Linked DNA regions of Homo sapiens: region 1 is linked to region 2. The links are contacts of gene promoters, found by promoter capture Hi-C in human tissues and cell types (Jung and others, 2019). All regions are on one chromosome and are shown on one strand. Each heading gives the region's core, a stretch centred on a gene start or on the middle of the fragment in contact. The rest is flanking DNA. Distances are from core to core; before and after follow the strand shown. Region 1 has its middle 24 kb from the start of LINC01226. Region 2 holds the start of NKAIN1 (sodium/potassium transporting ATPase interacting 1).

Evidence for each region. The method cuts DNA at HindIII sites, captures the fragments that hold promoters and counts their contacts. A contact is called where the count stands out against the background at its distance.
Region 1: a fragment that was not itself captured here is called in contact with the fragment with the promoter of NKAIN1 in region 2 in 3 of the 25 tissues and cell types used here (dorsolateral prefrontal cortex, lymphoblastoid cells and mesenchymal stem cells).

What each region holds. Positions count from the first base shown.
Region 1 is chr1:31,493,035-31,495,734 of GRCh38, reverse strand. No RefSeq gene overlaps it. Among named protein-coding and RNA genes, the nearest start is that of LINC01226, 24 kb to the left of the region's middle. The HindIII fragment of the contact is 6,478 bases long and covers 1-2,700 here.
Region 2 is chr1:31,238,575-31,241,274 of GRCh38, reverse strand. NKAIN1 (sodium/potassium transporting ATPase interacting 1) reads left to right here and starts at 1,388. Exons shown (of 7, transcript NM_024522.3): 1 at 1,388-1,781. The coding sequence starts at 1,728. The HindIII fragment of the contact is 31,179 bases long and covers 1-2,700 here.

The DNA.
Region 1 (2,700 bases), core at 185-2,684, 250 kb before region 2:
CATTACTGGGTATATACCCAAAGTATTATAAATCATGCTGCTATAAAGACACATGCACACGTATGTTTATTGTGGCACTATTCACAACAGCAAAGACTTGGAACCAACCTAAATGTCCATCAATGATAGACTGGATTAAGAAAATGTGGCACATATACACCATGGAATACTATGCAGCCATAAAAAAGGATGAGTTCATGTCCTTTGTAGGGACATGGATGAAGCTGGAAACCATCATTCTCAGCAAACTATTGCAAAGACGAAAAACCAAGCACCGCATGTTCTCACTCATAGGTGGGAATTGAACAATGAGAGCACTTGGACACAGGGTGGGGAACATCACACACCGGAGCCTGTTGTGTGGTGGGCGGAGTGGGGAGGGATAGCATTAGGAGATATACCTAATGTAAATGACGAGTTAATGGGTGCAGCACACCAACATGGCACATGTATGCATATGTAACAAACCTGCACGTTATGCACATGTACCCTAGAACTTAAAGTATAATAATAAAAAAATTAAATTAAAAAAACCAAAACACAACAAAACAAAAAACAGATTGCACAATCTCTGCATCCATCCAGGGGGGTCCAGGATCACCAGTTATTCTCTTATTAAAAAAGTTAAATATATATATAAAATATATAATATATACATGTATTATATATAATATATATAAAATATATTATATATACATGTATTATATATAATATATATAAAATATATTATATATACATGTATTATATATAATATATATAAAATATATATATTATATATAATATATATAAAATATATATATTATATATATTATATAATATATATAATATATATTATATATAATATATATAATATATATATAATATATATATTATATATAATATATATAATATATATAATATATATATTATATATAATATATATAATATATATATTATATATATATAATATATATATTATATATATATATATATTTTTTGAGACAGAGTCTCACTCAGTCTCCCAGGCTGGAGTGCAATGGCATGATCTCGGCTCACTGCAATCTCTGCCTCTTGAGTTCAAGCGATTCTCCTGTCTCAGCCTCCTGAGTACCTGGGATTACAGGGACCCGCCACCACATCCATCTAATTTTTTGTATTTTAGTAGAGACAGGGTTTCACCATGTTGCCCAGGCTGATCTCGAACTCCTGAGCTCAGACAATCCACCTGCCTTGGTCTCCCAAAGTGCTAGGATTCCAGGCCTCCCAAAGTGCTGGGATTTAAAAAATCAGCCAGGTGCAGTGGCACATGCCTGTAATCCCAGCACCTTGGGAGGCCGAGGAGGGCAGATCACTTGAGGCCAGGAGTTTGAGACCAACCTGGCCAACATGGCAAAATCCTGTCTCTACTAAAAATACAAAAAAATTAGCCAGGCGTGGTGGCGCACACCTGTAGTCCCAGCTACTTGAGGAGCTAAGGCAGGAGAATCGCTTGAACCCAGGGAACAGAGGTTGCAGTGAGCAGAGATCATGCCACTGCACTCCAGCCTGGGTGACAGAGCAAGACTCCATCTCAAAAAAAAAAAAAAAAAGAGAGAGAGAATTGACTAAAGTATCTTTAAAAGAATTACTTTCTAAGCTTGGATGTGACACAAGAGATCACACTTGTGAAAGATCATCAGGTTTGGTGGCACCTGATTTATAATTTGTGTATATTCATAAATATAAAACTCAGCTCTTCCTGGGAGTTAGGACACCTGGGGATTAACTAAAAGGATATTGTGGCCTGAATAAGCCACTCAGGTTTCAGTTCCCTTGACTATAAAACCTTAATAAGTTATTTAATGCAGAGATTGTGTTCTTCTTCTGAATCCCAGCTTCTAATAAAATTATGTCACCTTTCCTGATCCTCCATTTCCTCATCTGAAAAATGGAATTAATATGTTAGTGTTTGATACCAGCATTGTTTTGAGGATTAAATGAGATAATCTAAGTAAAGATCTTAGTTTAAACCGTGTTAATTGAAATCCCTGGGGTTAGAGGACTGTTCCTGGCCTCATCTGCCTGATACACATGTTAGCAGAAAGTTCTTAGCAAATGGCTCTGACAGCTCTATCTTTCTCAGAGGGCTGTGACCGGCTTGTGCAGAGCTCTGGTGGGTAAATAGTTTTCAGCTCATTCTGCCTGATTATATCCTCATTTCTTCTGGAACATCACTACAAACAAAGCAACAAGTTTGATCCTATGAACTAAGCATGGAGTTGGAATTCAAGGGTGACTAGCCAACAATGGGGGTTAGACCCTTTAGGCCCTGGGATGGCCATGTGAATAAAGTAAAAAATACTTCAGTTTTTCTTTAACTATGCTATTAAAGGTCTTCTTTATGTGCAATATCTGAAGCTTCACCTTAAGGGAGATATTTCACAAAAATAAGATGCCAATGTTATTTTGCCTTAAATGTATAAAAACTATCATCTGTTTTGTAGCAAGGATCAGAAGAAAAATAAACCAGGTCCAACATTTCTATGACTCCCATGTTGGATTAATGAATATGGAATCTTTATAAATTATGCATTGCATAATTTCACTATTTCTTATCATCCTCATAACAATCCCATGAAGCACTAATCATCATCTCCATTTTACAGATGAAAAATCAGAGGCTTACAGATGTTTAAAATGAAGAATTTCCATGGTTGTCAGTAAGTGGCAGAGCCAGGATTC
Region 2 (2,700 bases), core at 139-2,638:
CAACCTCCTGAGTAGCTGGGATTACAGGTGCCTGATACCATCCCTGCCTAATTTTTGTATTTTTAGTAGAGATGGGGTTTCACCACGTTGGCCAGGCTGGTCTCGAACTCCTGAACTCAGGTGATCCACTCACTTTTGGGAGGCCGATCTCCACTCAGGTGGAGGTTGCAGTGAGCTGATTCAGCCTCCCAAAGTGCTGAAATTACAGGTGTGAGCCACCGTGCCACGTTTCTTCTTTAATATTCTTTAGAGTATTCATCAGAACTTTGCGTATTTATTTGTATATTTCCTTGTTTTAATGACAATCCCTCACTAGACTGTGTGCTCAATGAGGGCAGAGATTTTGTCGGGTTTTGTTCCCTTATCCCCAGCAGAGAACCTGGCACATAGTGGGTATTTCATAAATGTTAGTTGGAAAGTACAGTTTATAGAATGTAGTGACAGATCAGATGTAATTGTAGGGAAGCCTGGAGGATGACCTAGGAAATTCCACTTGGGTGATGCTAATTGCCAAGGTGAATATAGGAAGTTAGGAGTGGGACAGGAATGATTATGTGGATTTGAGATGTGTCCAGTTCGAGGGCTTTTGGGGGTGGCTTGGAGAAGGCAATCTTCTGCTGGGAAACTTCTGACTCTGTCCCTACTGCAGCCCAGGGTAGGGGCTCCCTACCTCCACCTGGGCAGATCTCTGCCATCACCCATCTCACTGGCGTGCTCTTGGGAGCCTATCTGTTCCCTGGGCGGTGCAGCTCTACGGGATTTGGAACAGTGTTGCAGGTCTCATCTCTGGCTCGCAGGGCCCCCAGGGGTGTGTATGCAGTCAGGGCTCAATAAATGCCAGTAGACGGAAAGAAGGAAGGCGAAAAATGTGGCCAGACACTCAGGGGAGAGGCTGGGGTGAGGAGCAGATCTGGGAACGTAAATAGAACTAGAAGTCCAAGTTGGAACCCTGGAGCCCTAGAGACAGGGTGGACAAAAAAGTGTTCCAAGCCAGGAGGCCAGGCACAGGGCTAAGCGCTTTATTCACATGACTGCATTTCATCTTCATATCTACACTAAAGAGGCATAATTATTCCTACTTTGTTCATGAGAAAACAGGTCCAGAGAGGTGACGTGATTTGCCCAAGGTCACACAGCGAGTGAGCAGCAAAGTCTGGATTTGACTCAGGGCTGTTGTCCCCTAAGCCCGCACGCACTCTTCCACTTCACTCCCTGCCTCTCCAACCCTCCACCTCCCTATCCCTCTCCCCTCCCCTCCGGCGGCTCCCCCGCCCCACCCCTCTGCCGTTCCCCCCAACTCCCTCCCTGTCGGTGGCGGCGGCGGAGCCACGTGGTGGGGCCGGGAAGCCGCGGCCGACGAGAGCCCGGGCGACTGCCCCAGCTGGGCAGTGCTGCTCTGCGCTGCGCCGCGCTCGGGGCTCGCTCTCCTTGCTCCGCGCTCCCCGCCAGCCGCCCCGGGGCAGGAGGCGCGCCTGACGGACGGCCCGCTAGACAAAGGAGGCGCGGCTCGGCGGGGCCAGCGCGCGGACGGACGGACCATGGACTCGGAGCGCGGGCGGCCGGCCCCAGCCTTGGGGACCGGACACTCCCGGGCCCGGCCCTAGGCGCCCGGCCCCGCCGCCCGGCGCGCCCAGCGGGGAGGACGTGGAGCCCGCGCGGCGCGAGCAGGCGGCGGCCGCGGAGCAAGAAGGGCGCCGCGGCGTGCGGCCCGCGCAGCCCCCGGAGCCATGGGCAAGTGCAGCGGGCGCTGCACGCTGGTCGCCTTCTGCTGCCTGCAGCTGGTAAGCGTCGCGTGCCCAGGCAGTCGGGGCAGGGTGGGGCGCGGCGGGGCGCGGTCCCAGGGCGTGCGGGTGGGGTTGCGTGTGTCTCTGTGTGTGTGTCTGGTGCGTGTGCCCGGGCGGGGGGTGGTCTGGAGTCTCGGAGCGGTCGGGCGGAGCCTGCTCCCGCTGGCCGGGCTGTCTCTTTGTGTGCGCTTCTCGCTGCTGTGCCCGGCGCTCCTCCGGTCCCCAAGTGCGTCCTGTGCGCGAGTCCCCGGCCCGCCCGCACTGTACAAGTGGCCTCCTGTTGGGGGATGCGCTGTGGGACGGTGGCTTGCTGGGACTGGGGGTGTGTCTGAGGCTGATCTGTGGATCCGTTGAGGTCCTGCTGTGTGTTTCCCTCTAGATCCCTCGTTTGCATGGGTCTCTCCCTTCCTCTGGGTCTCTGCCTCTGATCACCACCCCTGTGTGAGCGTTTCTCACAAAGTCTCTGCTCCGGCGTGTGTCTCTCAGGGTTTCTCTTTGGTGTGTCTCTAAATCGCTGACCATTTCTGGCCCATGTTCATCTGTGTTCTGGGATCTTAGACTCCAAGAACCCTCCAATCCTTTGTGTTGTTTCTGCCTCCCTTCACCTTCCTGACCGGGCAGTCCTGGGAAAGGAGAGCCACCTCCCTGGAGAGGGTCACCAGGAGCTGCCAGATCCTGGGCCAGCCTGACCCAGCCTGGACCACACTTCCTGCTTTGGTCTGGCCGCTGTGGCCATGGGGGTTCCATCAGTCATCAGTTCCACCCACCAGAGCAGCTCCTCTGCCGGGGCCAGCAACAGTGGGGATGGGGACACTTGGGTGCCCTAGGGAGGACCAGAGCATCTGAGGACACTGTGCCTAGCCCCAGCATAGGGAACTCAGGTTCTTGTCTCAGGGAGGAGTGACTGTAGTGGACT